4 separate regions of the Homo sapiens genome follow, and regions 1, 3 and 4 are each linked to region 2. Evidence: promoter capture Hi-C in 16 types of primary human blood cells and fetal thymus (Javierre and others, 2016). All regions are on one chromosome and are shown on one strand. Each heading gives the region's core, a stretch centred on a gene start or on the middle of the fragment in contact. The rest is flanking DNA. Distances are from core to core; before and after follow the strand shown.

The links. The method cuts DNA at HindIII sites, captures the fragments that hold promoters and counts their contacts. A CHiCAGO score of 5 or more calls a contact.
Region 1: a fragment that was not itself captured here is called in contact with the fragment with the promoter of GTPBP4 in region 2 in 1 of 17 cell types (M2 macrophages); the score reaches 5.1 in M2 macrophages.
Region 3: a contact is called between a fragment that was not itself captured here and the fragment with the promoter of GTPBP4 in region 2, in 1 of 17 cell types (endothelial precursors). The highest score is 7.6, in endothelial precursors.
Region 4: a contact is called between a fragment that was not itself captured here and the fragment with the promoter of GTPBP4 in region 2, in 2 of 17 cell types (erythroblasts and M1 macrophages). The highest score is 10.6, in erythroblasts.

What each region holds. Positions count from the first base shown.
Region 1 is chr10:3,076,226-3,084,126 of GRCh38, reverse strand. It overlaps PFKP (phosphofructokinase, platelet), which reads right to left. Exons shown (of 22, transcript NM_002627.5): 2 at 1,666-1,739. Among named protein-coding and RNA genes, the nearest start is that of PFKP, 13 kb to the right of the region's middle. RefSeq lists enhancers at 5,453-6,388, 6,842-7,405, 7,406-7,901. The HindIII fragment of the contact is 5,287 bases long and covers 2,669-7,901 here.
Region 2 is chr10:983,005-990,730 of GRCh38, reverse strand. GTPBP4 (GTP binding protein 4) reads right to left here and starts at 2,297. Exons shown (of 17, transcript NM_012341.3): 1 at 2,204-2,297. The coding sequence starts at 2,251. It also overlaps a transcript of LARP4B not described here. RefSeq lists an enhancer at 1-550. The HindIII fragment of the contact is 2,419 bases long and covers 1,109-3,527 here.
Region 3 is chr10:3,055,124-3,062,151 of GRCh38, reverse strand. It overlaps PFKP-DT (PFKP divergent transcript), which reads left to right. Exons shown (of 4, transcript NR_160681.1): 2 at 3,669-4,072. Among named protein-coding and RNA genes, the nearest start is that of PFKP-DT, 8.3 kb to the left of the region's middle. The HindIII fragment of the contact is 3,364 bases long and covers 3,710-7,028 here.
Region 4 is chr10:3,095,097-3,102,970 of GRCh38, reverse strand. It overlaps PFKP (phosphofructokinase, platelet), which reads right to left. Exons shown (of 22, transcript NM_002627.5): 3 at 3,619-3,696; 4 at 1,417-1,606. Among named protein-coding and RNA genes, the nearest start is that of PFKP, 31 kb to the right of the region's middle. RefSeq lists an enhancer at 6,621-7,820. The HindIII fragment of the contact is 8,096 bases long and covers 10-7,874 here.

The DNA.
Region 1 (7,901 bases), core at 4,063-6,562, 2.1 Mb before region 2:
TAAATAATACAAAACATCAAATCGCTTTGAATATTAACATAGATCTTGCAGTGTTACAATAGCTTAAAAAACGGGGAGAAAGCTAAATAGTGCAATACCACAGGAATGGTGGAATACAGGGTCCATCATAAATGATGAGACATCAATTCAACAAGACAGTATGTTGACATTTAAAGCAACAGTTGGCTGGGCGCGGCGGCTCACACCTGTAATCCCAGCATTTTGGGAGGCCAAGGCAGGCAGATCACCTGAGGTCAGGAGTTCGAGACCAGCCTGGCCAACATGGTGAAACCCCATCTCTACTAAAAAACACAAAAATTAGCTGGGCATGGTGGCAGGCACCTTAATCCCAGCTATGTGGGAGGCAGATGCAGGAGAATCATTTGAATCTGGGAGGCGGAGGTTGCAGTGAGCCAAAATCAAGCCATTGCACTCAAGCCTGGGGGACAAAAGTGAGATTTTTCTCAAAAAAAATAAAATAAAATAAGTTAAAGCAACAGTCGTGAAACCTACGTAGTGAAAAGTCATGACATAATCGTAAACAAAAAACACAGTATACAGAACGTGTTTGCTGTACTTTTCCTAATGTGTGTGTTTCTTTCCGGTGTTTTACATACGTCATACTGAAGGAAATCAGACTAAAACACTAATAGCCATTTTGGAGGCATTAAGTGATTTACAAAAATACCTTCTTCTCATTTTTAAAGCTATGTTTTATAAATTTAAACATTAAATATTTTTCCTAATAATTTCTGAAATTAATACTGTGATCCAAACTCTATTGGTGCCTTCCTTTCAAATACTTTTTAGTCTTAAGTTGCCAGGACTTCAAAAGTGGCAGACAGGGAGTCACTCCTGCTATTTAACACATCAGCAGACACTAGGCATCGTTTCCACCTTACATGAATGATGAAAAGCTCAAAGTGGCTGTTTTCCTCATTTCCCTAAATGTGTATTCAAATTCAGCCTACATTGGAAATTAATAAATCACTTCTACAGCAGTAAGAGCCTCAGACAAATACAACCAACCAACCAATACAACCAATTAGAGATCATTGGTTGATTTCTAATCCTATAAATCAACACCAGGAAGTTGATATCAACATGGCCTTTTGTGGCTGGGCACAGTGGCTCACACCTGTAATACCAAAACTTTGGGAGGCCAAGGCGGGTGGATAGCTTGAGGACAGGACTCAGACCAGCCTGGCCAACATGGTGAGACCCCTTCTCTACTAAAAATACAAAAAATTAGCTGGGTGTGGTGGTGGGCACCTGTAATTCCATCTACTCATGAGACTGAGGCAGAAAATTGCTTGAACCCAGCAGGTTGCAGTGAGCCAAGATCGTGCCTCTGCACTCCAGCCTGGACAACAGAGCAAGACTGTCTAAAAAAGAAAAAAAAGAAAAAAGAAAATGGCTTTTTGGGCTCCCTCTCATCTCCTTTCTCCTCTTGCCTAACAAAAAACTTGCAGACCAGGCATCTGTCCCTGCAGACCAGGGGCTTCTGTGGGCTGAGGAACGGCCCTGGCTGGCAGGATCTTGCTCCCCTGCCCACCTCTTCGGCTGTGCTCAGCATGGGGGAGGCAGGGGTGAGCGAGCGCCGGTGACTGCAGGGCTCTGGGCAGGTGGAAGAAGGGCGACAGGGGGTGAGGGGCAGACACTGACCTCGTAGATGAAGTACACCTTGGCCCCCACGTAGATACCCATGCGCACCACGGCACGGACGGCAGCGTTCATACCTGCAGTGGAAACAGGAGCAAGAGTCACTGAAGAGCCCGGGGTAATTCTGGCTCTGCCACTAACTACCCATGACCATGGGTCCGTTTCCTAACCTCTCAATGCCTCATTTCCTAATATGAGAAATGGGTACACACACTCCTCTGGGATTAGGGTAAGGACTAAAAGAAACAGCCAACGTAACGCAAGGTACCCCCATGCCCAGGCTACTTTCTGTTCAAAACATCACTGCCTGGACTTGGTACGAATTTGTAGGCCACTCCATTCAACTGCAAAACGAAGTACAGAATAGGGGTTTATTTGCAGCTAGCCAAATTCTGTGTGTGTGTGATTTGAGAAGGAGATGAAAAATGGAGTATCACATCACCAACTACCACTGTAAAAAAAAAAAAAAAAAAAAAAAAAAAAAAAAGGCAATGGGCTTCAACAGAAAACAAGTCATGCAATTTTATTATCAGTAAAGTTAAAATAAACCAGCATATTACAAATAACCATACCTCATGAAGATAAAGGGAGGCCCCCCTTGAGAAGAACAGTGTTATACAATGTATCATCATATAAGTCTGTTTACAATGTATCATCATGTAGGTCTGTTTACAATGTATCATGTCTATTTACAATGTATCATATAAGTCTGCTTACAATGTATCATCATATAAGTCTGCTTACAATGTATCATAAGTCTGTTAGCCTCCACCTAGCTCTCCACTGCCGCTGGATTTGGGGGAGCTGAAGCCACTAGTGTCTCGGAACCACCTCTGGGCCTGGAGGGTCTGTCTTGCTGTCGTGGCTAACAAGCTCAGGCCCATCGGGAGAGGAGTGAAAAGGCACGAGGGCCGCACCCACAGCCATGCAGCGCTGCTGCTTAAGGATGAGGAACACCTGAGCCTTCAGTGCCTTTGCTCCCAAACACACCTGAGAGCACCAAGCTTCCTCCTCTGCAAAGTTAAGTTTCAGAAACAGCTGTCAGAACTAAAGATGCTGCAGTTCGTGGGCCATGAAGCCAGTGATGTTTCCAGTCAATAAACCACAAATGAAAGGACTGTGGTCCTGCAGGGGCATCTGTGACAGAGGCAGGCTATGTGCACTTGGACGGTGACCGGCTCAGAAGATGCTTAGAAAAATCTTCAATTACATTGGGCCAGGTCAGCGATGCTGGAGTCACCATTGCCTCTGAAAGTTGACAATTCTGAATGAGAGTATCTATTTGGCTGAAAAACCTTGGGGATACATATTTTAGAGGTAAATGCATGTTTACTATGTATCTAACATGTATGTATATGTATGTGTGTATATATATATTACATAGTCTTATTTACTTTATATTCAAACCTAGCTTATAACACAAAGAATTCGAATGACCTACTGATTAACTAGTGGCCATCTCTCAAGAACATCAAACTCAGCATTTCAAAATGCAGGTCATCTCACCCTGATCATTTCCTCCTCCCGCTGTAACCTCTCTCTTGCCGAACAGCACAACTTTCTTCTCTGTCTCTGGCGCTGAATGCTGCTAACACCCTTGCTGGCTCCTGCCCATACAACCAACACCTGCTCCCAACATTACCCCCGACTCCCTGACTCCCTCTGACATGAGCCACACTGTGGCCAGAAGGATTACAACAGCTTTTTCTCTTTCATTTGCTTTTATGCAAATAATTTATGAATATATTCTTCTTGTTTAGAAAAAAAACAAATGAAGTAACAGCCACAAGAGCCCCACCCCGTTGGAGAGCTGGGTATGGGGACGGTGCCTTGCTGTTGGGCTGTGCGAGTTTCACACTTGTTATTTCTTTCTACACTTTGACACTACGTCCGAGATGTTTTCCATACCAGTTTCAATATTCTCTTTTTTTTTTTTTTTTTTTTTTTTGAGACGGAGTCTCGCTCTGTCTCCCAGGCTGGAGTGCAGTGGTGCAATCTCGGCTCACTGCAAGCTCCGCCTCCCAGGTTCACGCCATTCTCCTGCCTCAGCCTCCTGAGCAGCTGGGACTACAGGCGCCCGCCACCACGCCTGGCTAATTTTTTGTATTTTTAGTAGAGACGGGGTTTCACCGTGTTAGCCAGGATGGTCTCCATCTCCTGACCTTGTGATCCATCCGCCTCAGCCTCCCAAAGTGCTGAGATTACAGGCTTGAGCCACTGCACCCGGCAATGTTCTCTTCTAAAGCACGAATATGACCGCGTTCCTCCAGGTTCCCAGGGCTACTGGAAGAAAACCCAAGTTCCCCTGAGCTCCCGGCCATGCCCCAGGGACCTCCCACCTGTCTGGCAGCACTCGGAGGCTCCTGTTCCTGAACCTTGGTAGCAGTCCCACCAGTGCTCTTGCTCGGACGCTCTTCCTCCTCCAACTCCTCCTCGGCTCTGGCACCTCCCAGGAAAAGGGCCTGGCTTGCCTCCCACCTGATTCCATTTATTCGTGGCAGGACAGAGCCTCCCACCTGATTCCATTTATTCCTGGCAGGACAGAGCCTCCCGCCCCCTTGGCCTCACACCTGTGGAAGGTCCTCGCTCATCTCTCCCATGGCTGGGCTCAGCAGTGCCTGGACTCTTCAACTCGAAGGGTGGACGCACAGCTCTGGTTCCAGGACCTTACGCTATGGTCACTCTAATGGATGAATTACCCATCAAACACAGCCCGTGCCAACACTAGGAAGCAGGTGATGCAGGAGCACAACTAAGACCCAATGGCGGCCCCTCACCCCTGCTCCTCTTCCCCCCCCCCCCACCCCGCTCTCTGAAGACCTCGTTCCCACCGGTCTTTCATAAAGGAATGATGAAGAACTCGGGGATTTTAGGAAATGTTAAGTGGAAAGACATAGAAGAAGGAATAAAATTCTTAAAAGCTGGACATGAGGCTGGGCACGGTGGCTCACGCCTGTAATCCCAGTGCTTTGGGAGGCCTAGGTGGGCAGATCACGAGGTCAGGAGATCGAGACCATCCTGGCTAACATGGTGAAACCCCGTCTCTACTAAAAATACAAAAAATTAGCCAGGCGTGGTGGCGGGCACCTGTAGTCCCAGCTACTCGGGAGGCTGAGGCAGGAGAATGGCGTGAACCCGGGAGGTGGAGCTTGCAGTGAGCTGAGATCATGCCACTGCACTCCAGCCTGGGCGACAGAGCGAGACTCTGTCTCAGAAAAAAAAAGCTGGACATGATACACAAGGTGACCCCAGGAGACTCCTGTGCAGAGTAAAAATGCACCCCAGCACTAAACTCAATCGCTGAAGTCCCTGCTGGATTCTCCCCACCCCCACTCCGGGTTCACCTGCACCCACCTGGAAAGAACAGTGACACCACCCCACAGCAGGAGCTCACCATCAGCGGCCGCAGCACCCCCATGTAGCTGGGCTGCCCCCGGGTTTCACAGGTGGAGAGGGAGCCTGGGAACTTGCATTTCTAGCAATTTCCAGGTGATGGGGGCACCACACTTTTAAAGAGACACAATTCTAGGTCCTGAAAGGACTTCTATTAATTTATGCATTGGTAGGATGGAGCCATGCATTGCAAAGGGCTTTTATTCATGTGTCCTCCTTGAGCTCAGGGACTGGCAGCACTCGGTGGGGCCCAGTAGGACGTCCCTTGCTGACTGCAGACCCACAGCCAGAGCCCTGGCCTGGATGTTTCTCACAGGAAGCCTGCAGAGCTCCTGACACCTCCCTGGAGGGATGAGAAAGCTGAGGCTCTTAGGGGGATAAACTGATTACTGGAAGGTAACAACATTAGTAAGCGGTGAAGCTGTAGTGTAAACCCTAGTCTTATTTCATTTTAACTTTCAAGCCTTCCTAATTTCCTCTATTACAATGCCTGTGCCTCAGAGTCACCAATGGGAACTTGAAGGAAAATAATACCTGCTGAGGCCAGATGCTCATTTAATTGCCTGGGAGTGGAGACTGTTTAGTTCTAAGCCCTCCCTCTGAACTTCTGAACAGTGAGGACTGCAAGTCAGCTGCCTCCTGCTGGGCCCTGCAAGATGAAACCTGAGGAAGCCCCAGGAACATTCAGTGAGGGGTTTGGAGGGAGAAGAACACTGGTGGATGAAAAGCAAGGGGGAAATATACCAGCATTTACTGGCGGGCTGTCACCCACAGGACAGGGACGAAGACGTGCACACCTGCAATGCAGGCAGACGTGCACACCTGCAATGAGGGCTTTCACAGCCCGCAACGTGGGCTTTTGGCGTCACAGGTAAAAGTCACCTGTTTCACCATTTCCTTAGGGCTGTCCGTGGGCCCTGGCACACAGCCATTAAGGGACAAAGGGCAGTTTCAGAGTCTTTCACTCAACACTCAAGCCACAGATTGTCCAAATAGCTCAGGCATCCTGGGGCTAATCCATCTGGTTTTGTTTTGGTTTTGGGAGCCCAACCCAAGGATTTCCAGGAGAAAATAACATCTTCCTACCAAAGAAGAACCTTAACATTTGGAAAAACACCGCTTCGTAATTTGCAAAAATCCCAGTTTTCAGGGAAGTGAATATCTTGTCATGAGAACCAAAAATAAAGTTGGAGATAATGAGGGAGCGGTTTCATAGGAAAGATCTGGTCATTACTCTGACCAATTATTAAATCGCTTTCTTCATATGCCGTACTTTTTAACAGCTTCTTACTAAACCACAATGCAGGTAAGAGAGTCACAGGACGGTTTCTTCCTTGAGTCAGAGTCATCCTTGGCCTACACCAGGGCCTAGCAAGCATGACTTAAGTCACCCTTATTTCCTGGCTACTTGGAGGAGCTGGATTTCCCAGTTTACAAATCTCAGTTTCCTGGGATTCTGCTCTGATAAAATCTAAATTGCATTTTTTTTTTAAAAAGTAAGGAATAGGCCAGGCACGATGCCTCATGCCTGTAATCCCAGCACTTTGGGAGGCCAAGGTGGGCGGATCACGAGGTCAGGAGATCGAGACCATCCTGGCTAACAGGGTGAAACCCCATCTCTACTAAAAATACAAAAAAAAAAATTAGCCGGGCATGGTGGTGAGCGCCTGCAGTCCCAGCTACTTGGGAGGCTGAGGCAGGAGAATCGCTTGAACCCGGGAGGTGGAGGTTGCAGTGAGCCGAGATTGCGCCACTACACTCCAGCCTGGTGACAGAGTGAGATTCCATCTCAAAAAAAAAAAAAAAAAAAGAAAAAAAAAAAGTAAAGAATAGATGAACTCTAATGAAATAATCTGGGTCTATCTTTTACCTCCTCCATTGTCTGGAGTAATAAAGCTCCCTGCCTCGCCCTCTCTCACAGCACTGAGCCACTTTTCCTGAATTTTCCCACACTCCTGATCACTCACTTGTTAATTTCAATGCATAAATTCTTTTTGAGAAATAAAGTCAGTTTGCCGACTCCTCCCGCTGCTTTGTTAGAAAATGAGCTTACACCGCGCTGATCTCACTACTGCTGCCAAAGTTCCTTCTAGGGGTCTTTCCTTTGATAATGTAGGGATTATGTAGGCATGGGGAGGTGGGATGCCAAAGGCAGATTCTGTCAAGGTGCTGTTCCCTCCCCACCCCTGCCAGTTCAAAGTCATCGAACTGGGGGGCCTCTCTGACCTCCTGGACTGTGCAGACCACCGTGTCTTCTAGTAGGGTCAGGGGAGGGCTTGAGATAAATCTGTAGGGCTCTTCACTCAACCACCAACCCACTGTCCAGCTCGGGTGCCCCAAGTGCCACCTCTGCTGGGCTCTGTGTGGATGCATCAGTGACAAGATGGGAAGCCTCTGGCCCTGGAAGAGCTTGTTCCGATCAGGAGAGACCCGAAAGCAAGAAACACAGTGAACAAATGCATGATGCCCATGGATGGATGGCCGTAAGTGCTAAGGAGAAAAATAACAAGCGGGGTGGGGGGTGTTGAGGGTGTGGAGGACAGGGAGGGGCTGCCATTGACAATCGGAGAGCCTGCAGACCTGCCTGAGAGTGACGTTTGGAGAAAGAAGGAAAGGGAAGAAGTTGAGGGAGTTTAGCCAAATGGACATCTGGGAAAGAGCTCAGGTAGCAGAGGGGCTGGGGCGGGGGCGCGGCGGCAGCATGCTGCATTCCAGGGTCCTCTGCGTGGCTGGGACAGTGTCGGCCCTCCCCTGCACATCCCTCAGAGCCTTCGCAAAAACACCCACATGGGGACCTTCTAAATACAGGCAGCACACGCCACCCATTGCGTGACCACACTGTCCCT
Region 2 (7,726 bases), core at 1,048-3,547:
TTTGAGATGGAGTCTTGCTCTGTTGCCCAGGCTGGAGTGCAGTGGCGCGATCTCGGTTCACTGCAAGCTCTGCCTCCTGGGTTCAGTTCACACCATTCTCCTGCCTCAGCCTCCCCAGCAGCTGGGACTACAGGCGCCCGCCACCACGCCTGGCTAATTTTTCTGTATTTTTAGTAGAGACGGGGTTTCACCGTGTTAGCCAGGATGGTCTCGATCTCCTGACCTCGTGATTTGCCCGCCTCAGCCTCCCAAAGTGCTGGGATTACAGGCGAGAGCCACCGCACCCGGCCTCGACTTACCTCTCTTGAAAATGACTTCCAAAGAGGCAGGTATTTTATCTAATGCATTTTTGTAACACAGTACCCGATGCACAGGACAGGCACTCACTCAACATCTTCTAGAATGAACTGAATACCACACTTTCCCGATGTGATTTTTTTTTTTTACTTCCAATCACCAAACAATTACCATCACCCAGTTTTTAGATAAGTCATCTGTTCTCTAAAAATATAAATCTCACTCCACAGAACAGAAGACGGATGGTGTATAATATATTCTAAAGTTCTCCACATAAGTCAATAACATGAACAAAGTTCATATAATCCAAAGAGCAAATTCCTTCAACAAACCTGAGAGATGGTTGACCAAAAATACAAATAAGACATGACTCCTGCACTCGAAAATACTACAATCTGGCTGGGCACAGTAGCTCATGCCTGTAATCCTAACACTTTGGGAGGCTGAGGCAAGTGAATCACTTGAGATTAGGAGTTCAAGACCAGTCTGGCCAACATGGTGAAACTCCACTTCTACTGAAAATACAAAAATTAGCCAGGCCTGGTGGCGCATGCCTGTAGTCCCAGCTACTCGGGAGGCTGAGGCAGGAAAATCACTTGAACCTGGGAGGCGGTGGCTGCAGTCAGGATCACACCACTGCGCTCCAACCTGGCCAACAGAGCGAGACTCCATCTCAAAAAGAAAGAAAGAAAATACTACAATCGATCAAGAGATGTGCCAGAACAACTGTCAGGAAGAAATAAGAAATGGTGGAGAGAAGTGGGGAAACAACTTTTGCTATGAAGGTAAAATACGAGACTCCCACAAAGCTTTCCAAGGCAAGCTCATCCCGTCCTTGAGACCTGAAGAAAAGGAGGCACTGACGAGGGGAAAACAGTCACTCTGCAGGGACTTCAGTAACTCCCTCTCGTGCAGGAGTCCCTGGGAGGCTCCAGTTGCCCGTCAATGTCTGTGTAATTGCGACCCAAATCGAATGTTCACTACATAAAAACGTGACTTCTTAAAAGTCCTAATACTAGGGCCGGGCGCAGTGGCTCACGCCTGTAATTCCAGCACTTTGGGAGGCCGGGGCGGGAGGATCACCCGGGATCAGGAGTTCGAGGCCAGCTTGGCCAACGTGGTGAAACCCCGTCTCTACTAAAAATACGAAAATTAGCTGGGTGTGGTGGTGCACGACTGTAATCCCTGTTACTCGGGAGGCTGAAGCAGGAGAATCGCTTGAACGCGGGAGGTGGAGGTTGCAGTGAGCCGAGACTGCGCTCCAGCCTGGGAAACAAGAGCGAAAAACTATGTCTCAAAAAAAAAAAAAAAAAAAAAAAGTCCTAATACTCAACACTTGTTGACTCATTCTTGCCACACCAACCAACGCTGTAAAAATTTAGTCTGGGCCTACTATGGTCTGAAAAGGAACAGGTATTCCCAAATCTAACAGTGAAAGAGAATGACTTAAAAATTATGAAACGTTAAATCACGAGAACAACGAACCCAGGATTCCTGAGAGGGGAGGGGGCTACGCCAAACCCAGAATCCGAAGGCTCATCACGGACCACGGAACGCTTCCTCCCTCACATGTCGGGGTCCCCCTCCACTCGCCCACATCGTCACCCGGGGCCCCTCCAGGGAACCCAACTCTGGGTGTACCCCCATCTCTGGGGGCCCTCAGTCTTTGGGTGGACCACGGTCTTAGGTGGACCCCGGTCTCTGGGGGATCCGATCTCTGGTGGACCCCGGATTCTGCTGGGGGAGGGGAAATGATCCCGAGTACGCGGCCAGACGGTCAGGCCCAGGAGCGGGGGATGGGCGAGCGGAAGGCGACCGCTCTCCCACGGCTACAGGCCCGGACCCTCCCCGGGGACCCAGCTGAGGAGAACGCGAAAGTTGCAGTGGCCCTCCCGGGGCCGCCTACCTTGGCGGACGGCACCACCGTAATTTTCTTGAAGTTGTAATGTGCCATGCCGGCAGCCGTATGCACGCGGGTACTTGGCACTCCCGGAACTTCCGCCGTCGGGCGCAGGTGGGACTTCCACTGTCGGGCGGTTGAGGTACGTCACTTCCGGGAGCTCAGCCAATCGTGTTCTGCGTGCTCTACGGCGCTTTCCGCGTCGCACAGCGCACCCGCCCGGCTTGGAGGTCAGCCACGGAGGGCGTGTGAGGGCCTCAGGAGCGAGGGTACAGAGGAGAGGACGCCCGGGTTTTAGGGGGAGCGCGGAGACTAAATTCCTGCTGAGTAAAGCGGGGGTTTCCGACAGACTGCCCTGCGGGTTTCTGGAGCGGGTTCAGGCCCCCAGCCACGCGCCCTGGGCCAGGGTTGGAGGGTCCGGGGTCTTGGGATTTGGGAGTTGCGGGGCTTAGGAGTCCAGAGGGTCTAGGGGATCCGGGAGTCTGGGGGTCCTGGGTCGCGGCGAGCCCCGCAAAGGAGGAGGAAGCCGCGCGTGCGGGGCGTGCCCAGCCTCTGGGTGTGGAGCAGATGACGCCCCTACCCCGGCCTCGCGCGTGGGACTTGATCCCGGGCCGTGGTGAGGAGGCCCTCGCGGCTTCCCTGCAGCCCTGCTTTCTCGTGCTTGTTAAATCCCAAAACGGGCGGAGAAGGGAAAGCCTGATCTAAGGCAAAAGAGGTGCAGCTGGTTCCGCGCAGTGCCTTAGGAGAGCCCAGGGAACAGTTGCGAGAGACAGTCCTGTGGGGTCCAACTGAGGAGAAGGTTGATGAGGATGGAGCCTTTACTGCTTTTATGTTTGTGAATAGAGTGGCCGCTCCCTTTGGGAACCCAGGGCCACATCCCTTAAATTAAACGTTAGGTAGGGCTGACTCAGTCAAGCAGTGTTCAGAGCTGCTGACTATATATTAACTCGTTTAATTTCTGCAACAGCCTCATGAAGTGCATGGGGAAACAAAGGCACACAAGGCTCGAAAGCACCCCGTGGTTGTGCAGCTGACAAGCTAACAGGCAGCAGAGGTGGGCTTTGAACCCAGGCAGCCTGGCTCCAGCAAACCTGCTTCTAACCATTAGCTATACTGCTTCTCACGCATCTGGGATGCCCCCCACTCTCCAATCCTTTTAAACAAGTCCTATTATTCTTACGCGAAAATACCTCTCATAAATTCCCAGCATTCCAATATTGAAAATCATTCTGGGTCATGCTTTTCTCATCTATTAACTATGCTTCCATTTTTGTGTCACAAGGCGGATAAGCATACCTCCTACATCTTTGTGGCACTTCTAAAGGAAGCTTCTAGGGTAATTAGGATTTGCTGGCTATGATCATTTGCTAAACCACAGGACAGTTCTGGCCACCATTTCCGAGATTAGCAAAGCTATGCTCATACTTATTGCCCTTTCTTTTAGGTTCTTGTATGTTTCCTCAACCTCTCCCACTTTCTCTCACTCTGATATAGCCAGTTCCTCTTTTTCTTGTAATCCGGTATTTAGATAAGTCCAGTCAATACTTTGCTTCAGATGGGCAAACATCCTTTCTTTAATTTTTTTTTTTTTTTTGAGACGGAATCTCACTCTGTCGCGCAGGCTGGAGCGCAGTGGCGCCATCTCAGCTCACTGCAACCTCCGCCTCCAGGGTTCAAGCCATTCTCCTGCCTCAGCCTCCCAAGTAGCTGGGATTACAGGCACCTGCCACCACTCCCGGCTAATATTTTGTATTTTTAGTAGAGACAGGGTTTTACCATATTAGCCAGGCTGGTCTCAAACCCTGACCTCAAGTGATCCACCCACCTTGGCCTCCCAAAGTGCAGAGATTACAGGCATGAGCCACCTGCTTTTAACTTGTTCAGCTACAAAGGCATGTCTGTGAATGCACAACCATAATGACTCATCATGGGCCCAGAGCTATAACAATGATAAGGTACCAAGCATCTTACACCATGTGCGTGTTGATGAGAATCAACATCCTTGCCTGTTCTTGTGATTTTGTGGCAGAGTATAGCTTCTTGGGGGCAAGTATGTATTCTACACCACTAGGAGCAAGCTTCTTTATCATACACTTCTGGGCTTCTCTGGGGAAGCCAAACTCTAAAGGCCTTTTCTGAGGAGTGTCGCAAATGCTGCCTGCAGTACGAGGCACATTGCCAGTTCCTGACTGCATTAGCAGGTTCCAGCTGCCAGGACGCCTCTGAGTGTGTACCTTGTGACAGAAAGGTACTTCTCAGCTGTAGTAAAGGATGCTCTCAAGGGTACTCTGCAAAGCTTCTGACTGCGAGGCACTTCTCAGTAAAAAGCTTTGTTTTTCAGACCTTTTTATTTTGTGGGTTTGGTCTTTTCTGTTTTACCTTCTCGTTGCTGTAATTCTGATGGATGAAAGGTACATTTTGCAGAACTGAACTTCCTGCCTGAAAGGAGCCTTTACATGGGGATTAGCCATCAGTAGGCATCCGGTCTTAGAGGGTCCTATGAGTGCTCCATTGGGCCCGTCGGCCACTTCCCTGGATCCCCACAGGAACTCATTCAGAACGAGTCACATGCTGCTTTGTACCTAGATGCTTCCTTGTGTACATCTTGTTTCCAAAAGAAGTAGCCAGCTCTTCGTGGACAGGAACTGTGTCTTACTTTTTTGCCATCCCTCACCTCAGGCAGCACTGCCAAGAGCATTCACAGTGACTGTGGAACTCCGTTGATTGAATGTTGGCTTGAGTAAGTTCCTGATGTAGGGGCTGTAGCGGTTGGAATCAAGCTTCTGCAATACTCAAGTAGTCCTACTGAATTACAGTACTGTCAGACCCCCTCTGCACAACCCTGAAGTGGGTCAGAACTCCACACTGTGCCATAAAGAGGAAAGCTGTCAACAGGGAGGTCTAAGGAAACACCTCCTTAGGTGGAAGGCAGCAATGGCATGAGAGCCACCCTCCGGGCCAAAGGTGCAGCCTGACATTCTCTGCAGAATTACACAGTGAGTTAAGACTGTGAGCTTCATTTCTGAGATACAGCTCCACCCGCTGTGATCCTGGGAAAATGTCTCAGCTTCCCCAAGCCTCTGTTTCTTCACTCTTTGCTCACTTACTATCTACCAGGCATGTTAAAAATACTTTATGTGAATTATTTTAGCTTTTCACTAACCCTATTCTACAGGCATTAATAAGTGAGCAAAGAGATTGTGTATTATTAATTATGCATTATGTATTATCTATGTTCTTATTAGCTGCTTAGTTACAATAATATTTGCTAAACTTTTGTTCTATTCATTAAATTATCGTTGAACCTTAACAACTGCAATGCAGGGAGCCTCCACCATGTGCCAGGTCACTTGCTTTCTTCTCGGGACAGCATAGTGAGGTGGGTGTGATTGTCTCTGTTTCACAGACAAGAGTGCTGGCTTTGAGGTGGTTGAGTGCTTGCTCACCGTCACACAGCTGGAGAGACACAATGAGGTGCGTTCAGGGCGCATGGAACTCCAAAGCCACTCTCCTTTTGCACTGCCAGCCGAGAGTGGCTTTGTTCTTGACCTCTGTAGAGTTATTACCTTGTTTGGTATTTGTTTGTTTGTTTATTTATTTATGAGACAGGGTCTCACTCTGTCGCCTAGGCTGGAGTGCAATGGTGTGATCTTGGCTCACTGCAACCTCCACCTCCCAGGTTTAAGCAATTCTCAGATTTAAGTGCCTCAGCCTCCCGAGTAGCTGGGACTACAGGTACATGCCACCACACCTGGCTACTTTTTGTATTTTTTAGTAGAGGGGAGATTTCGCCATGTTGTCCAGGCTGGTCATGAATTGTTTGGTATTTAAATGGAGGTACATGATGGATTGCACTTGGGGTCATATGCTGTCAATAATCCCCCAGCACCTGTGTTTCACTAAAGCACTGTTTGCATATGCAGACAGGTTGTGTTTCTTCTGTGAGAATTCCGTTCCTGTGCGTGGATCATGACAGGCACCTGTGCTAATGAACTTCTGCCCTTGCTCACGTCAGAGCTGCTGATAAGGGGTGTTTCTATGGGTTGAGTACGAGTCATTCTATTGACACACTGTTAAAAACATTCTTTGCATTCTGCTGTTCCATAAAGGAACAATTTTAGGTTTAATGGAAATCTTGCGATCTCTTTTCCTAGAGAAGATTTGTGATAATAATCATACACGTATTTGGAATGCATGTACTTATGCTTGTATGATCAATTTCCAAATGATTCTAAATATCTGCAGGCAGAATTTCTTAAGATTAGCATTCTGTGCTGTACCCAAAAAGATACTCGAGATAAGCAAAGACAAGTTTCATGTTGCAACAGACATCTGAATCCTTAGTGTTTCTGGAAGCTGGTTAAGCAGGTGGTTGTGATGTCTGACCCTCAGGTTAAAAACAGTGAAAAAAATTCACTTTGATGATGTGACGTCATTGTCACAAGTTTAATAATTGATTTTGAAGGTCTGCACAAGGAAACCATAATGCTTTAGCAATTTCCGTTTTCCAGAGGGAGGAGGCTTAAAATTTCAATTCCAGCCCTGCCACCAACTTCTAGACTAATAGTAAGCTAAGTGCCTTTCCTGCTATTATTTTTAATTAAAAACATATTATTTCCTCACAAAAGCATAGAAGTATAAAAATAATAGTATTCACTATCAGAATGTATGTGTCTGGACAGTCTAAATTATCCTGTGATAACAAATAGTCTCCAAATCTCAGCATCAGTTATTTCTCTCTGATGCTCCACGCCCACTGCTGTGGACCAAATTAAGTCTCCCCAAATTCATACGTGAAAGCCCTGTCTCCCAGTGTTAAGGTGTTTGGAGATGGAGCCTTGGGGAGGTAATTCGGTTCAGAAAAGGTCACGAGGCTGGAGCTCTCCTGATGGAATTAGCACACTTATGAGAAAAGACACCAGAGAGCTGCTCCCAGGCTTCCCCGACCCCATGCTTGCACCAAGGAGAGACCATGTGAGCACAGAGAGAAGGCGGCTTTCCACAAGCCAGGAAGAGGCTGCACCAGAACCCAACTATGCTGGTGTCCTGATCTGGACCTTCCAGTCTCCAAAACTGTGAAAAGAAAATTTTCTGTTGTTTAAGCCACTCAGTCTGGTATTTTGTTATGGCAGCCCAAGCTGGTTAAGATACTCACCATAGGTCAGCAGGGGCCTCTGTTCAGGATGGTCATTGAGGGAGCAGACTCCTGGAGTAAAGGTTGACAATAGCTATGCTGAGGAAAGGGGAATGAATTTGACAATTAAATGTTTCCGTCTCAGCTCCCATGGGCCTATTTCTGGACAGTGAGTTGAGAATAACAGAGTTATCTGTAAACAGTACTGATGCCTACTGCATTGGCATCTAAAGAAGATGCTCTTTAAATCTGTGCTCAACTGATAATTAATCCAAATATGCTACAACGAATAATGTCAAAATACTTAAGTTTAGAAAATCCGAACCTATGACCAATACATAAAGAGAAAGGTAATAACCCCTCTTCTGTTCCTCTGTCCCAGGCTAATATTGACT
Region 3 (7,028 bases), core at 4,142-6,641, 2.1 Mb before region 2:
CTGTGCTTTTGATGTGCATATACATAAACATCTCAATGCCTTAAGGAGCAGTATTGCTGCCAGCATGTCCCACCTCCAGCCTTAAGGCAGTTTTCCCCTATCTCAGTAGATGGAATATACAATCGGCTTTACACCGAGACATTCCATTGCCCACGGAGGAGCAGGAGACAGAAGCCTTCCTCTCATCTCAACTGCAAAGAGGCGTTCCTTCCTCTTTTACTAATCCTCCTCAGCACAGACCATTTACGGGTGTCGGGCTGGGGGACGGTCAGGTCTTTCCCTTCCCACGAGGCCATATTTCAGACTATAACATGGGGAGAAACCTTGGACAATGCCTGGCTTTCCTAGGCAGAGGTCCCTGTGGCTTTCCGCAGTGCTTTATGTCTCTGGGTACTTGAGATTAGGGAGTGGTTTGAGATTAGGGCGTGGTGATGACTCTTAACAAGCAAGCTGCCTTCAAGTATGTGTTTAACAAAGCACACCCTGCACAGCCCTTAATCCATTTAACCCTGAGTTGACACAGCATGTGTTTCAGGGAGCACAGGGTTGGGGGTAGGATTACAGATTAACAGCATCTCAAGGCAGAAGAATTTTTCTTAGTACAGAACAAAATGGAGTCTCTTATGTCTACATCTTTCTACACAGACACAGTAATAGTCTGGTCTCTCTTTCTTTTCCCCACAGTGAATGAGTGAGTGAATGAGTGATCGAGTGAGTGAGTCAATGGGTTAGTGAATGAATGAGTGATTGAGTGAGTCAATGGGTTAGTGAGTGAATGAGTGATTGAGTGAGTGAATGAGTGATTGAGTGAGTCAATGGGTTAGTGAGTGAATGAGTGATTGAGGGAGTGAGTCAATGGGTTAGTGAGTGAATGAGTGATTGAGGGAGTGAGTCAATGGGTTAGTGAGTGAATGAGTGATTGAGTAAGTCAATGGGTTAGTGAGTGAATGAGTGATTGAGTGAGTGAGTCAATGGGTTAGTGATGAATGAGTGATTGAGTGACTGAATGGGTTAGTGAATGAGTGAATGAGTGAGTGAATGAGTGATCGAGTGAGTGAGTCAATGGGTTAGTGAATGAATGAGTGATTGAGTGAGTCAATGGGTTAGTGAGTGAATGAGTGAGTGAGTCAATGGGTTAGTGAGTGAATGAGTGATTGAGGGAGTGAGTCAATGGGTTAATGAGTGAATGAGTGATTGAGTGAGTGAATGAGTGATTGAGTGAGTGAGTCAATGGGTTAGTGATGAATGAGTGAATGAGTGACTGAATGGGTTAGTGAATGAGTGAATGAGTGAGTGAATTGGTTAATGAGTGAATGACTGAGTGAAAGTGAATGAATGAGTGATTGAGTAAAAGGGGGTGAATGAGTAAATGAGTAATGAGTGAGTGAGTGAATGAGTGAGTGACCGAATGAGTGAGTGAATGAATGAGTGAGTGAATGAATGAGTGAGTGAATGAGTGAGCGGGTCGCTCAGAGGAGGTGAGGACCGGAGCTGCCCTCTGACTGCTTCAGGAGACAGGAGCTGAGGGAGGAGCCTGAAGGGTGGGTAGGAGGTGCCCACTCAGTACTTATACCCTGCCTGACACATCCCCAGAGAAACCCAATCTCACCAGAGTGGTCTCTTGAGAATTATCAGTAACAACCTTTTTTCCCAGTATTTCATATATTCAGGGTGATTTCTTACTTTCCTTTAAAATGCCAATTGCTTTTCGGACTTGGAATTCTCCACTGTTGCTCCACGCCACTGTATCTCCCATAGGGGCGTCCCCCGTCATTCCCAGGAATGGATAAAAGCCAGAAGGGCGGCATCAGGTGGGGCCCCTTCTCCTATCATCCTCCCCTTCCTGCTTGCGTTACCCTAAGTGACTTGTTTTGGAAGTCTACAAAACGCAGACACATCAAATTTGGATAAAAGCGTAAGCAATTTAAGAGGTTGCAGTGCTAGCGGGAAGGTCTTTGGCTGCCGGCACCCTCCTCCCCTCCAGACCCTGCTGGACCCAGGACTCTGACTCTGCCTTCGGCCTTGGGGGTTTCATTCCTTCTTTCCTTGCCAGCCACTGAGCTGCCTTGGGCTAATCTGCAACCACAGAGGGGCAACCATCCTCCTTTCCTCTTGCCTCTTCCTCCCTTCTTCTCACTTTCCTTCTGCTTCTTTCGGGACTTTGGAAAGTTCAAGAATAAGCAAAACTGTAGATCAGAAAACGCTGCCTTCAGCCTATTCTCCTCCCACCAGCTTCCCTGCAGATTCTTTGATCTTTAAAAAGTATTTTGCTTTGTATCTAGATGCTAAACTTTATATAGAAAACAGGTGGGGTTGGTTTCTCGGCCGGGTACAGTGGCTCACACCTATAATCCCAGAGCTTTGGAGGCCAAGGCAGGAGGATTGCTTGAGGTCAGATGTTTGAGACTAGCCTGGGCAACATAGGGAGACCTCGTCTCTACAAAATCCAAAAAAATTAGCCTGGAGCGATGGCACACCTGTAGTCCCAGCTACTTGGGAGGCTGAGGCAGGAGGATCACTTGAACTCAGGAGTTTGAGATTACAGTGAGCTATGATTACATCACTGCACTCCAGCTTGAGCAACAGAGTGAGACACTATCTCCCAAAAAAGTAAAAATAAAAAGTGCTGGAGTCCATATCGAAGCCCACAGCCAATTGTGACATGTGAATCTTTTATTTTTATAATCTGCCTCTCTTGTCTAAGTGCCAAATGATGCTCACATTGTGTGTAACTACTTCCACCTTTGTCTGGCTTCTTTTTCCTTAAGTATGCAGAATCAGGTTGCATAGAGTTCTGAGAAAATAAAATAAATCCGCTGTGTGCTGTGGCTCATGTCTATAACCTCAGCACTTTGGGAGGCTGACACAAGGATTGCTTGAGACCAGGAGTTTGAGGTCAGCCTCGGCCACATAACGAGATCCTGTCTCTATAATAAATAAATAAATAAATAAATAAATAAAACATTAGCAGGACATGGTGGCACAGCTGTTGTCCCAGCTACTCAGGTGGTGGAGGCCTGAGGATTGCTTGAGCCTGGGAGGTTGAGACTGCAGTGAGCCGTGATCATACTACTACACTTTGGCCTGGGTGAAACAGTGACACTCTATTTCTAAAAAAATAAAGTAAAAATAAAAACAGTTGGAAGCTTCCCAAGACTTTGATGCAGAAACAGGTTGCCCTGAACCAATTAAAATTAATATCTAAAAACTGGAAAGAAAGGAAAGAAAGAAGTTTGCATTATTTCTGTAAAGTATGATGCCATTACAAGTTTTACTTTCTCTGGGACATTTTCTCAGTGGTGTCAACTGAAGTCCACTTCACAGAATGACTTCATCTCCTGAGCACTTTGGAGAACGACGATTAAAGAGACTTCCTGGCACTCCTGATACTTTTAGTGTCATATGGAAGCAGCAAGAGTCATATGTGTTAAATCCGTGGTATTAAAGCAGAAGACATTGGTTTGTTCTTTCATGAACATTGTCAGAGCATTTCCCTAATGACTAGCGTTATGTCAGAAAATGGGGGGAGAGAGATGGTTCTTTATTGGCAAATAAGTTACATAAATTTCCCAGTTAGAAAAACAATCATGATTTTAGCCATGTCAGATGAGGTCAGAGATGCCCTATGCCTCAGTTATGGAATGCTAAATCTGAATATTGGTTGACAGGTATCTTCCACGGACCTGTGACCTGTCGCTGTGTACAAGCTTGAATTCCTAACTACGAGTCCTTGAAGCTCCCTTGCTGCCTGAGCGGAACTGAAATGGCTCCCGGCTGAGGCATTCAAGGGAAAACTCACTGAAATATTTGAAACTACCACCATGAACAAGAATGCTCTTCCAGTGTGCCAGGATGTACACCCAGAGCATTATCCTCATTAGTTGTATATGCCAGCATCCGGCAGGCGCTTTTATCTTCTTTGGGTGTCAACTTTGAGATTCTTATGTAAGCTGCGACCTCTTCCTCTGCCTGCAAGCACATCCACCCACAACCACGTGTTGCCTGGTTTAGAGCCTGCGGCTGGGTCCACCTGCAGGAGGAGGAGTGACTGGTGCAGTGAAGCTCAGACCAGGTACAGGATCAGAGCTGCGGTCACACGTCCGGGGCAGACAGCTCTGCATTCTTGGGAGGGCCCAGGTACCCTCTTCTCTTGGAAGGCCAAGCCCAGAGCCTAGGTGGTCTTTGAACCCAAATAGACTTTGTAGTCCAGGGAATGGGAGCCTCGCTCACCAGGGGAAGAAATTAGGGATCTTGGTCCTGAGTTTGTGGGGTAGACTTTGCCATTTTCCTCCCCCTTTCCCGGCCATGCCCTGTTTGAAAAGAGGTCACTTCCATTTCAGTGAGCCAAGATCGAGCCACTGCACTCCAGCCTGGGCAACAGAGTGAGACCCTGTCTCAAGGAAAAAAAAAAAAGAAAAGAAAAGAGGTCACTTCAAAACTTCCCTGTTCAAACAGTTGACCCTTGAACAGCAGGGTTTGAACCGCATGGGTCACTTACTTACACATGGATTTTTTTCACTTCTGCCACCCCTTAGACAGCAAGACCAACCCCTCCTCCTTTCCTTCCACATCCTCCTCCTCTGCCTACTCAATGCAAAGGTGAGGAGAAGAACCTCTATGATGAGGCACTTAATGAATAGTCAACACATTTTCCTTAGGATTGCTTTATTTCCTCTAGCTTACTTTACTGTAAGAATACACTATACAATACATATAACATACAAAATTTGTGTTAACCAATTATCTGCGTGATCACTGAGGCTTTTACCCAAGAATAGGCTATTCTTGGGTAACGGTCAATCCGTTTTTGGGTAGTCAAAAGTTATTGGCTGAATTTCGACTGTGTGGCGGGTTGGTGCCCCTAATCTCTGCATTGTTCAAGGATCAATTGTATTGCTTAAGAGGTGGTCATTGGAACACTCCTTAGGGGCTGACTATTTTTTTGTTTAAAAAAGTTTTTGCCACAGTGGGCCGCTCGTTTAAGGCCCTAAGATTCCTCACCTCTGAGCTCCTGCTACCATAGACCAAGTGCTGATCATTTTTGTTGCTCAACATACTTGTCTCTTCCATCTGCCACAGGACCCACTCTCACCTTCCAGGAACTGCTCCTTCCACTGCCTGTGGACCTGAGGGTCAGCGTGTCCAGCCAGGCCAAGTAGGGAGATCAGTCCTCTCCTGTGCCCCAGTTCATGGATGGGCACAGGATGTGGGTGGTGGGGGTGGTCCACCCGCTTCCTGCTAATCCCACTGGATCATCAGGTGGGGAGAGTCAGCTTGCATAGTGAAACCAGAGAGCTGCGAGATGGAGAGTGGGAGTGAGAAACCAACAGAGTGAGACACACACACACACACACACACACACAAAGAGGGAGAGTGAGAGAGAGAGAGAGGGTCAGAGAAGCAGAGACACAGACAGACATAGAAAGATGGAGTAAGAGATGAGGGGAAGAGAGAAACAGAGACAAACACAGAGTCTTAAAAAGAGACAGAGAGAGACAGAGCAACCAGGAGAGAGAGAGAGAGGGAGAAACAGAGACAGGCAAAGTGAGAGGCAGAGAGAGATGGAAAGAGAGATGGGGAGAAAGGCAGAGAGAAGCAAAAGCACAACGTTCCTTGAATTGCTTCTCCCTGAGGTCACCATTCTATTTCTGCACTTCCAATCACCACCAGGAATCTTTCTAAGTCACCTGTCCTCCTTCCTTCCCTGTCTTCCCCACGCACTCTTACTAAAGCCTCCTGAAATCTGCCCTCCCAATGACAACTCCTCCTTGAAATGTCACCACTGACTTCCAAACAAGCAGCAAATAAAAAAGGTTTTTAAAACACTGACTTCTACCAGTTTCTAGTTTTTCTAAAGGTTATGGTGCTGTTTCTTAATACCTCTCTCGAACATCTTTCTCTTTGTTTTTTTTGCATGAATTAACATGAAAATAGAGCACAACATATTATAGTGAATATAGACTATAAATGATGTTTTGTGCATACTTTATTACTAGTGATAAACACTGTATAAGTAATTTATTTTTGCCATTTCCTACTTACTATGGTTTGAAAGTGTCCCCCAAATTTCACGTGTTGGAAACTGAACCCCTCATGCAGTAGTGCTGAGGGGACGGATATTTAAGAGGTGATCAGGTCATGAGGGTTTCACCCTCATGAGTGGATTAATGTTTTTTGTTTGTTTGTTTGCTTTTTTTTTTTGAGATGGAGTCTCGCTCTGTTGCCCAGGCTGGAGTGTAGTGGTGCAATCTCAGCTCACTGCAAACTCCGCCTTCTGGGTTCACACCATTCTCCTGCCTCAGCTTCTAGAGGAGCTGGGACTACAAGTGCTCACCACCACGCCCGGCTAATTTTTTTGTATTTTTAGTAGAGGCGGGGTTTCACCGTGTTAGCCAGGATGGTCTTGATCTCCTGACCTCGTGATCTGCCCACCTCGGCCTTCCAAAGTGCTGGGATTACAGGCGTGAGCCACCACGCCCGGCCGGATTAATGTTGTTATTGGGGGAGTGGGTTCATTATCACAAGAGTGGGTCTGTTACAAAAGTGAGTTTGACCCCTCTTACTCCCTCATGCTCTCTTGCCCTCCCACCTTCCCGTGGGATGACACAGCACAAAGGTCCTTGCCAGATCACCCTTTAACCTTGTACTTCCCACCTCCAGGACTGTGAGAAGTGAATCTCTGTTTTTGTAAATTACCCAGTCTCAGGTACTCTGTTAAGGGAAGCAGAAAACAGGCTAAGACAAAATGTTTTAGTATCCTCTTCTCTCACAGTTGCAGTGAGAAGTTTATACTTTGTTTTGCTTTGTGGCAGATGAAGTGCTAAATAATAGGCATAATTTTGAAGGTTTCTCCTTCTATCCTAATATTTGATCCATTTAAAAGTTTCTATTACACTGAGTTGTTGACCCTTGCTTCTGATGCCTCAGAGATGTCTGGAAGAAAATCACGGAGGAAACCTCAAGTGCCATGTAGTCTGTCTTATCTAAGTGCCCTCTGGACTTCGAGAAGGCTCTTTCTGAGAACCAGG
Region 4 (7,874 bases), core at 2,808-5,307, 2.1 Mb before region 2:
GGGCAAGCTTGGGCCCGGACTTGTGGCCACTGTCCCGGTCTGTGCACTCACTGTGCTGTGCCAGACGGGATGAGGTGGACAAGCGGGAACCGTGAGGCCTGGCTGCTTCCAACGGGCAGCCTTCTCCATCCCCTACGAGGATGTTCACAAACCTGGGGACAGCTGCTTTGCCTCAATGCCGCCTCTCATCGAGTTGCTGTTAAACAATATGCTTCCCTGGTCATATTTAATATTGCACTGAAATTACATAACCGCTTCAAGGGAGAAAAACTACACTTTGGGAGGCCGAAGCGGGTGGATGACCTGAGGTCAGGAGTTCGAGACCAGCCTGGCCAACATGGCGAAACCCTATCTCTACTAAAAATAAAAAATAAATAAAAAAATTTTAAAAAAGCTGGGTGTGGTGGCGCATGCCTGTAATCCCAGCTGCTTGGGAGGCTGAGGCAGGAGAATTGCTTGAACCCAGGAGGCAGATGTTGCAGTGAGCCGAGATCGTGCCACTGCACTCCAGCCTGGGCAATGGAGAAAGACTCTGTCTCAAAACAAACAAAATCAAACAATCAAACAAAACAAAAATAAACCACATACACACAGGGCTCTCAGAAACGCTTTCCTAAGTAGTGCCAAAGTTGGTACTGGATGATGTATTGGCAGAGATTTATCGTCTAAATAAATTAAAGTCCTGTGGCAACTTCAGTTTTTTTTTTTTTTTTTTTTTTTGAGACAGAGTCTCGCTCTGTCGCCCAGGCTGGAGTGCAGTGGCGGGACCTCGGCTCACTGCAAGCTCCGCCTCCCGGGTTCACGCCATTCTCCTGCCTCAGCCTCCCAAGTAGCTGGGACTACAGGCGCCCGCCACTACGCCCGGCTAATTTTTTGTATTTTTAGTAGAGACGGGGTTTCACCGTTTTAGCCGGGATGGTCTCGATCTCCTGACCTCGTGATCCGCCCGCCTCGGCCTCCCAAAGTGCTGGGATTACAGGCGTGAGCCACCGCGCCCGGCCCAACTTCAGTTTTAAAGGACCCCAGCGAGCTGGAGGGACACAGTGTGAGGGCTGAAAGGCGGATGCTAGTGTCCCAGGCTGCTGGGGACCCGGCTCGCCCCACGGCTGAGTGGCCGTTTGATTCCTCATCTGTAAATGGGATGATCTAAAACCTGGCTTAGATGGCTGTCGTGAGGATTCCATAAAGCTATCTGTGTGAAAGGTCGAAGGGTGCCTGGCACATGGTAAGGTTAAATTACTAGCATTCTTACGATCATTGCTGTTGTTTTTTGAGATCCTAAAAAGTCCTGAGATGGTGACCTGTAAGATCTGTGAGAAGAGGTACTTCTGCCACAGTGAAGAGGGAAACCTGTCGGTTCCAAAGCTCTGAAACAGGGCGAAAACCCGCAGGACAGAGGAGCAGGTGTCCACTCACCGTTCCTGGCCAGCTCCTCCAGCAGCCCACTCCACTCCTTCCGGAAGAGGTTGGCCCCGGTGAGGCTCCCGTCCCCGCCGATCACACACAGGTTGGTGATGCCGCGCTGCAGCAGGTTGCAAGCAGCCTTCAGGCGGCCTTCCCGCGTGCGGAAGGCCTGGCACCGCGCACTGCCAATGATCGTCCCGCCCTGGGAAAGACACCAGCTAATTTATCTCCTCTCAGTCTGAGAGAGCGCCAGGTGGATGGCACACACAGGCCGACTATAAACATGGGGTGCTAGAATTTACATTTTTCTCATTTTCATCTTGTGAGTTAGTAACTAGCTATGAAAGACTGTGATTTTCCTGTTTTTAGTCCCAGACCAGCATTCCATGGACAAAGACAGGCGCGTGACACCCAGGAGGAGCCAGGGAGGGTGCAGAGCCAGACACACGGCAGCCAGCAGTTAAATACATGGAGCAGGAACCAGCCTGCGGTGTCACAGCAGCCGCCTCAGCACCGGCCAACGAGCTCAACCAGGTGCACGTGGAACCAAAGACAAGCCCACTGACCACCAGAGCATGCCGGCCAGGACAAGGGAAGCGGTGTGACCAGCAGCCAGGCTTCTCCCTCCAGTCACCCCTTACAGCACCTGCAAGTAAAACCAGCAGGAACCTGGGGCCAGGGGGATTTTTTTTTTTTTTTTTTTTGCACCACATACTCGCTGCCCCTTTTAAAGAGCTATATCTTCAGGATCTTAAATTCTTTCATCCAAACTTCCAGGGGACATAGATCATGATTCGTCACACTTGGTTTTCCAAAAACTAAGAATTGTTGGTGGGATCCACAAATGCAAGATTTCTTTAAATAAAACCATGAATGCACCAAAAAACTCCATCCGTACGGGATCCCTAAGCGCGTGCTGACTTTGTCAAGCAAGGTGCTCATAAGCACAGCAGGGGTTGTCTCTGCACTGGAGGCGAAGCTCTCCCTGCCTTCGGTCTGCAGGCAGCTCCCAGGAGACCCCTGCAGTGACGTGAGTGCGTGTTTCGATACACCAATGGTGCACGCACACAGCTCATTTTCACACACAGAGACTCACTAATATTCCAAATCCCAGAAAAGCTCCTATTTTTACATGAAACCTACCACCATTTAATTTATCAAAACATTATGAAAAGGTTACAAAAACTGAAATTCACTCCACACGATCCTACGTCACTGGCACCAAGTGTGACCGAGACCATTTACAACCCAACCCCCAAGGCAAGTGAGGGTGGGGGCGCAGAGCAGGGCAGGGGTGCTCTCTGGACTCTGCCTGGACAAAAACCTGGGGGGCAGCACGAGAGCCAGCACAATGGGAGCTAGAGCCAGCAACCCAGAAACTCCAACCAAAGAGACGAGGTGGCCGCAACTCAGGAACGAAACCAGGATAACTGGGCTGCAGAGGAGTGGGTGCCATTCCCATTCTCTCACTCACTCTCTTTCACACACACACACACACACACACACACACCACACACCTACACATACAAGGACACCACATATACACACACCCCACACACAGATACACATTCGCTAGCCAGAAATTCACACAGTTAACACATACACACGGGCACACCACACATACACACTCAGACTCACACACCTACATACAGACACACACCAGACTCACACAGTTACACACACACCGAGATTCACACACCACATACACCACACACAGAAACACAGACTCACTGATACACATACGCACTTCAACTCTCCGTTCACATCTTATCTTCCTCCGTCAATCACGACCGCAGAATGGAAACGCTCCCCTGTGTGAATTCAGCCCACACTCTCCTGATGTTTTGCAAACGTTGCTCCACCTAACTTCCGTGGTTGTCAAAATTCCCTCCACCTCTCTTCTGATGTGTCGGAGCTCAGGAGGCGCCCAATGCAGAGAGAGCCTGGACCAGCACGAAGGTGTGGGCCCCATGAGCGTCTTCAGCGGGGAGGCACCGATTTGGATTATTTCTATTAACAAGTACTCAAAGTGACTCACAGATTAACACATGCATTTCTAAAAATCAAACCACAAGTAAAGAGCTGCTCACAAAGTCTGTTCTGTCCACATAATCTCTATTTCGCAACTGATCTGAGCTCAAGTGTTCTGGGAATTTACTAGACATAAAAGAGTCTCTAACTCAGAGAACCCTGTGGACGCAGCCCAGTACCTACCACTTGCAGGATGCTGGAGACACTCTCCCAGTCGGCCTCTGCGATGTTTGAGCCTCCGTCCACCATGCCCTGGTAGCCCTAGGGGAGAAAGGGAGAATCTTTTAAAAATGAGATAAACTTCACTAAATGGGAAGTGATCCTTAAATTATATAAAACGGGAAAAATGACAGTGAATGTCAGTTCCTCAGCATCCACTGGTCAGAAGACAGGGCAGTTCCAGCACTGGATAAAAGCAGTGAATTGTGGGAAAGTCCTCACCTTGAGTCCCTAGTAATGGGAACGTCTGCCTAGACTCAGCCTCACAGTGCAATGAGGAATCAAGCCATTCTCCTATGGCCCAGCGTTTCCCGAGAGGTTGAAAGGGTCGTGTTTCGCTAGAGGTTGAAAGGGGTCACTTTCACCCAACGTGTTTATCATACTTCAGCACAAACTCACAGGCACACAGCACTGTCGAGCACGGGACATACATGGGAGCATTTTGTCAGGGGCTCCGCCTGCCAAGGCACCCTGCGCCACTTGGGATGTATGTTGAATATTATTAAACAGCACAGCTGAATAATAATTGTCTGCCTTACCCTCCATTAATGACACGGTGCTGCATTAGGGAATCAGATATCAATATGTGAGGACACATTGATAGAAGAAGCCCAAGGACAATTACCTTTTTTTTTTTTTTTTTTGAGACGGAGTCTCACTCTGTCACCCAGGCTGGAGTGCAGTGGCGCGATCTCGGCTCACTGCAACCTGCCTCCCGGGTTGAAGTGATTCTCCTGCCTCAGCCTCCTGAGCAGCTGGGATTACAGGTGCCTGCCACTGCACCTGGCTAATTTTTGTAGCTTTTAGTAGAGACGGGGCTTCACCTTGTTGGCCATGCTGGTCTCAAACTCCTGACCTCATGATCCGCCTGCCTCAGCCTCCCAAAGTGCTGGAATTACAGGCGTGAGCCACCGCGCCTGGCCAACAATTACCTTTCAATGCTAAATGCATCCCCATCTTTTTCTCCACGGAATATACAAGATCAGGAAATGCAGCAATGCCCACGGGTAACTTCATCTACATAACTCACTTTCCACAGCATTTAATCTTAAGAAGGAATAACTATTAAGGATTTAGAAAAGTTCATGATAGATTATTGTTGGATCCATAAGCCCACCTTAGTGAAGGTCCGGAGGACAGAAAAAAGAAAGGTTTTTAAAATTGAAATGACTCATAGATTATGGAGTTCTATATATAAATTAATCAATAGTGCAGGCACCTTGATAGCTGGCCAATTTGTATACTTATATTTATAAATTTCTACCAGAAATATTATATATATATGTGTGTTTATTTTATTTTATTTTTGAGACAGAGTCTTGCTCTGTTGCCCAGGCTGGAGTGCAGTGGCACGATCTCGGCTCACTGCAACTTACATCTCCCAGGTTCAAGCAATTCTCCTGCCTCAGCCTCCAGAGTACTTGGGATTACAGGAACACACTACCACATCTGGCTAATTTTGTTTTTGTTTTAAAGTAGTGACAGGGTTTCACCATGTTGGCCAGGCTGGTTTCCAACTCTTGACCTCAAGTGATCTGCCTGCCTGGGCCTCCCAAAGTGCTGGGATTACAGGCGTGAGCCACCATGCCTGGCCACATGTGTGTTTATAATTTAGTGTCATACATGTAATAAACAAGAAAGGAGAAAACAGTCTGGAATGGAACAGAACCCAAAACAGAGCTGGTTCATTTCAGCGCTGGCAGCCCCGTCTGCACCTCCCGAGACCCCCCAGGCACCCAGGCCCTGGCTCACAGGCTGGTACAGGGACTGCCCATCACCAGGCCCCCTACCTCCATGGCAAAACAGCAGAACATCTTCTAAACACAGCCCAGTCTCACTCTAGGGATTATTATTATTATTATTGTCTCCCCTTGCTCTGAAAACAGATTTCCCTTGCAGTGCAGATGAGCCCAGTGTAGCCGTCCCCCGGAGGGCGAGGGTGAGCAAGTGTGAGGTCGGATGCAGACCTCGCCTCTGCACAGGGCACCCTGGGAGGCACCGTTTATGTTCTGTCCTGCTGCGGATGCTCTGTCCACACAAGGACTCACTGGTAACAGACGGTCATGTGCAAAGCCATGAATGACTCTTGGAGGCCATAATCCTCAGAATATTGTAAGTACAATAGGTAGGTAGGCGGGTGGGTGGATACATAAATAAAGAGATAACCTAGCCTTGGGGTTGCAGTTTCAGTGATCTCTACCACCCCAAACTCCCAGGTTTTTTTGTTTTTTGTTTTTTTGAGACGGAGTCTCGCTGTGTCACCCAGGCTGGAGTGCAGTGGCGTGATCTTGGCTCATTGCAAGCTCCGCCTCCCGGGTTCCTGCCATTCTCCCACCTCAGCCTCCTTAGTAGCTGGGACTACAGGCACCCGCCACCACGCCCGGCTAATTTTTTGTATTTTTAGTAGAGACGGGGTTTCACCGTGTTAGCCAGGATGGTCTCGATCTCCTGACCTCGTGATCCGCCCGCCTCGGACTCCCAAAGTGCTGGGATTACAGGCATGAGCCGCCGCACCCGGCCTCCCAGGTTTCTGCTAAGAATTATGCTTCATTCTGCAAGCACAACAGAGCGCTCCATTCTTCAGGTCTGGGAGCAACACTGAACAAACTGCCATCTGCAGTGATCCTGACTTTCCAGATTGACTTCCATGAAGCTCGGGGGGGCAAGGAAACAAGGAAGCAGGCATGTAGCCTGGGCCACCGTGAAACGGACCCTTCTTAGAGGCACGACCTCCCATCCTCCAAGCCCACATCTCAGGAGGAGAGAAAAGATGACCCATGATGGGGCCTGAACTGCAGCAGAAACCGGGACCTCCCTGAGAGGACTGGGATGTAGAGCGGCCGTAAACCTGGGGCTCCGGCAAAACTGAAACAGACAGTTCCTACATTCCCACACCCAGAGCTGTTGCGGTCATTTCTGTGCATGCAGTTTTTTGGTAAATAAAGAGACCGGGGGGAAGGTGCCAGTTCCGGCCGCCACCCTGCTGAAGAGGATGCCAAGGCCGCTGCAGCATCCTGAGGCCGTCTCAGGCCCAGGAGTCAACCATGCACCCCTAACGGCATCAGCTTTCAGAGTATTCCTGGAGCACGCGCTATCCCGGACGCTGCTTCCAAGTCAACCGCCACCCAGCATTTTACTAGTTAATATGCCATAGTGGGAACCATACAATTTCCTTTCCCTGCATGAGTTCACAGAATTTAAATACGGATTTAATCAAACATGTTAACGAATCCTCTTGCTTCTGGAGTAGTAAGAAAACTGCTCTGCAAACCACAACATTTTGAAAAGTAAAATGTTCTCTGAAAGTAATTTCATTATTTTGTGTTGCATAGATGCATGTGGCAAAGAAAGCCATTAAAAAATAGAAAGGGAGGGCTTTCTGAGTGCCACCTCCAATGCTCCCTGTCTAGTGCATGCGTGAGCTAAGTTGCTAGGAAATGACTCATTCTTTAATTTGCAAAGTCACGACGCCCATGGAACATGTGAAAAGCAACTACCAGCCGCAGTTCTAAGCCGTCTTTCACCAACAAGGAAGATATTACTAAATTAGGAAGACTCATTTTGCCCAAACGTACTACAACGTAGAAATTCAGATGAGTTTTCTCTTTTGAAGTCTTCTTAGAAGGCTGAATATTTATCTTACTACAGCCAAAGCCCAGACGTTTCCTAAAACACCCTTTTGGAATTTGCCTTCCAAGCCAGTTTTATGACTCACATAGGAAAAACAGAGCATAAAACCTTTAACCTTATCTCAGTTTTTTGGCCAAAGTAACATTCTCTGTCTTGTTGACTCTGACTCACAAGATGAACCTTAGAGCTCCTCGTTGGCTGTATCGGATCCATCGTCGGACAGAATTTTTTACGTTGAGTCATTCGATCACATCTAAGAACATGCCACAGGCTCTGAAGTCATTTCAACTTATTCGAAATTGTTTTGAGCTGTGTCAAAATAACCAGCCTTCTAACCATGTAGGAGATCATTCTATATGTAGAGGTGGTTTTGACTAGAATTTTTAGGCAATCGCCGAATCCATCATAAATGGAGTAAGCTAGTTCACCTATGCGCGTAGTTCACCTATGGGTGGCTTTCTCGGACGTCTCATATGTAAGTTTTTTTTTTTAAAGTTACAGACAAAGGGAAATTATACCGTTGTGTTGCAGCAGTAGGCTTTTTCTTTCAGAATGCTTGTTGCATGGGTCCATGTGTCTTCTCAACTGGA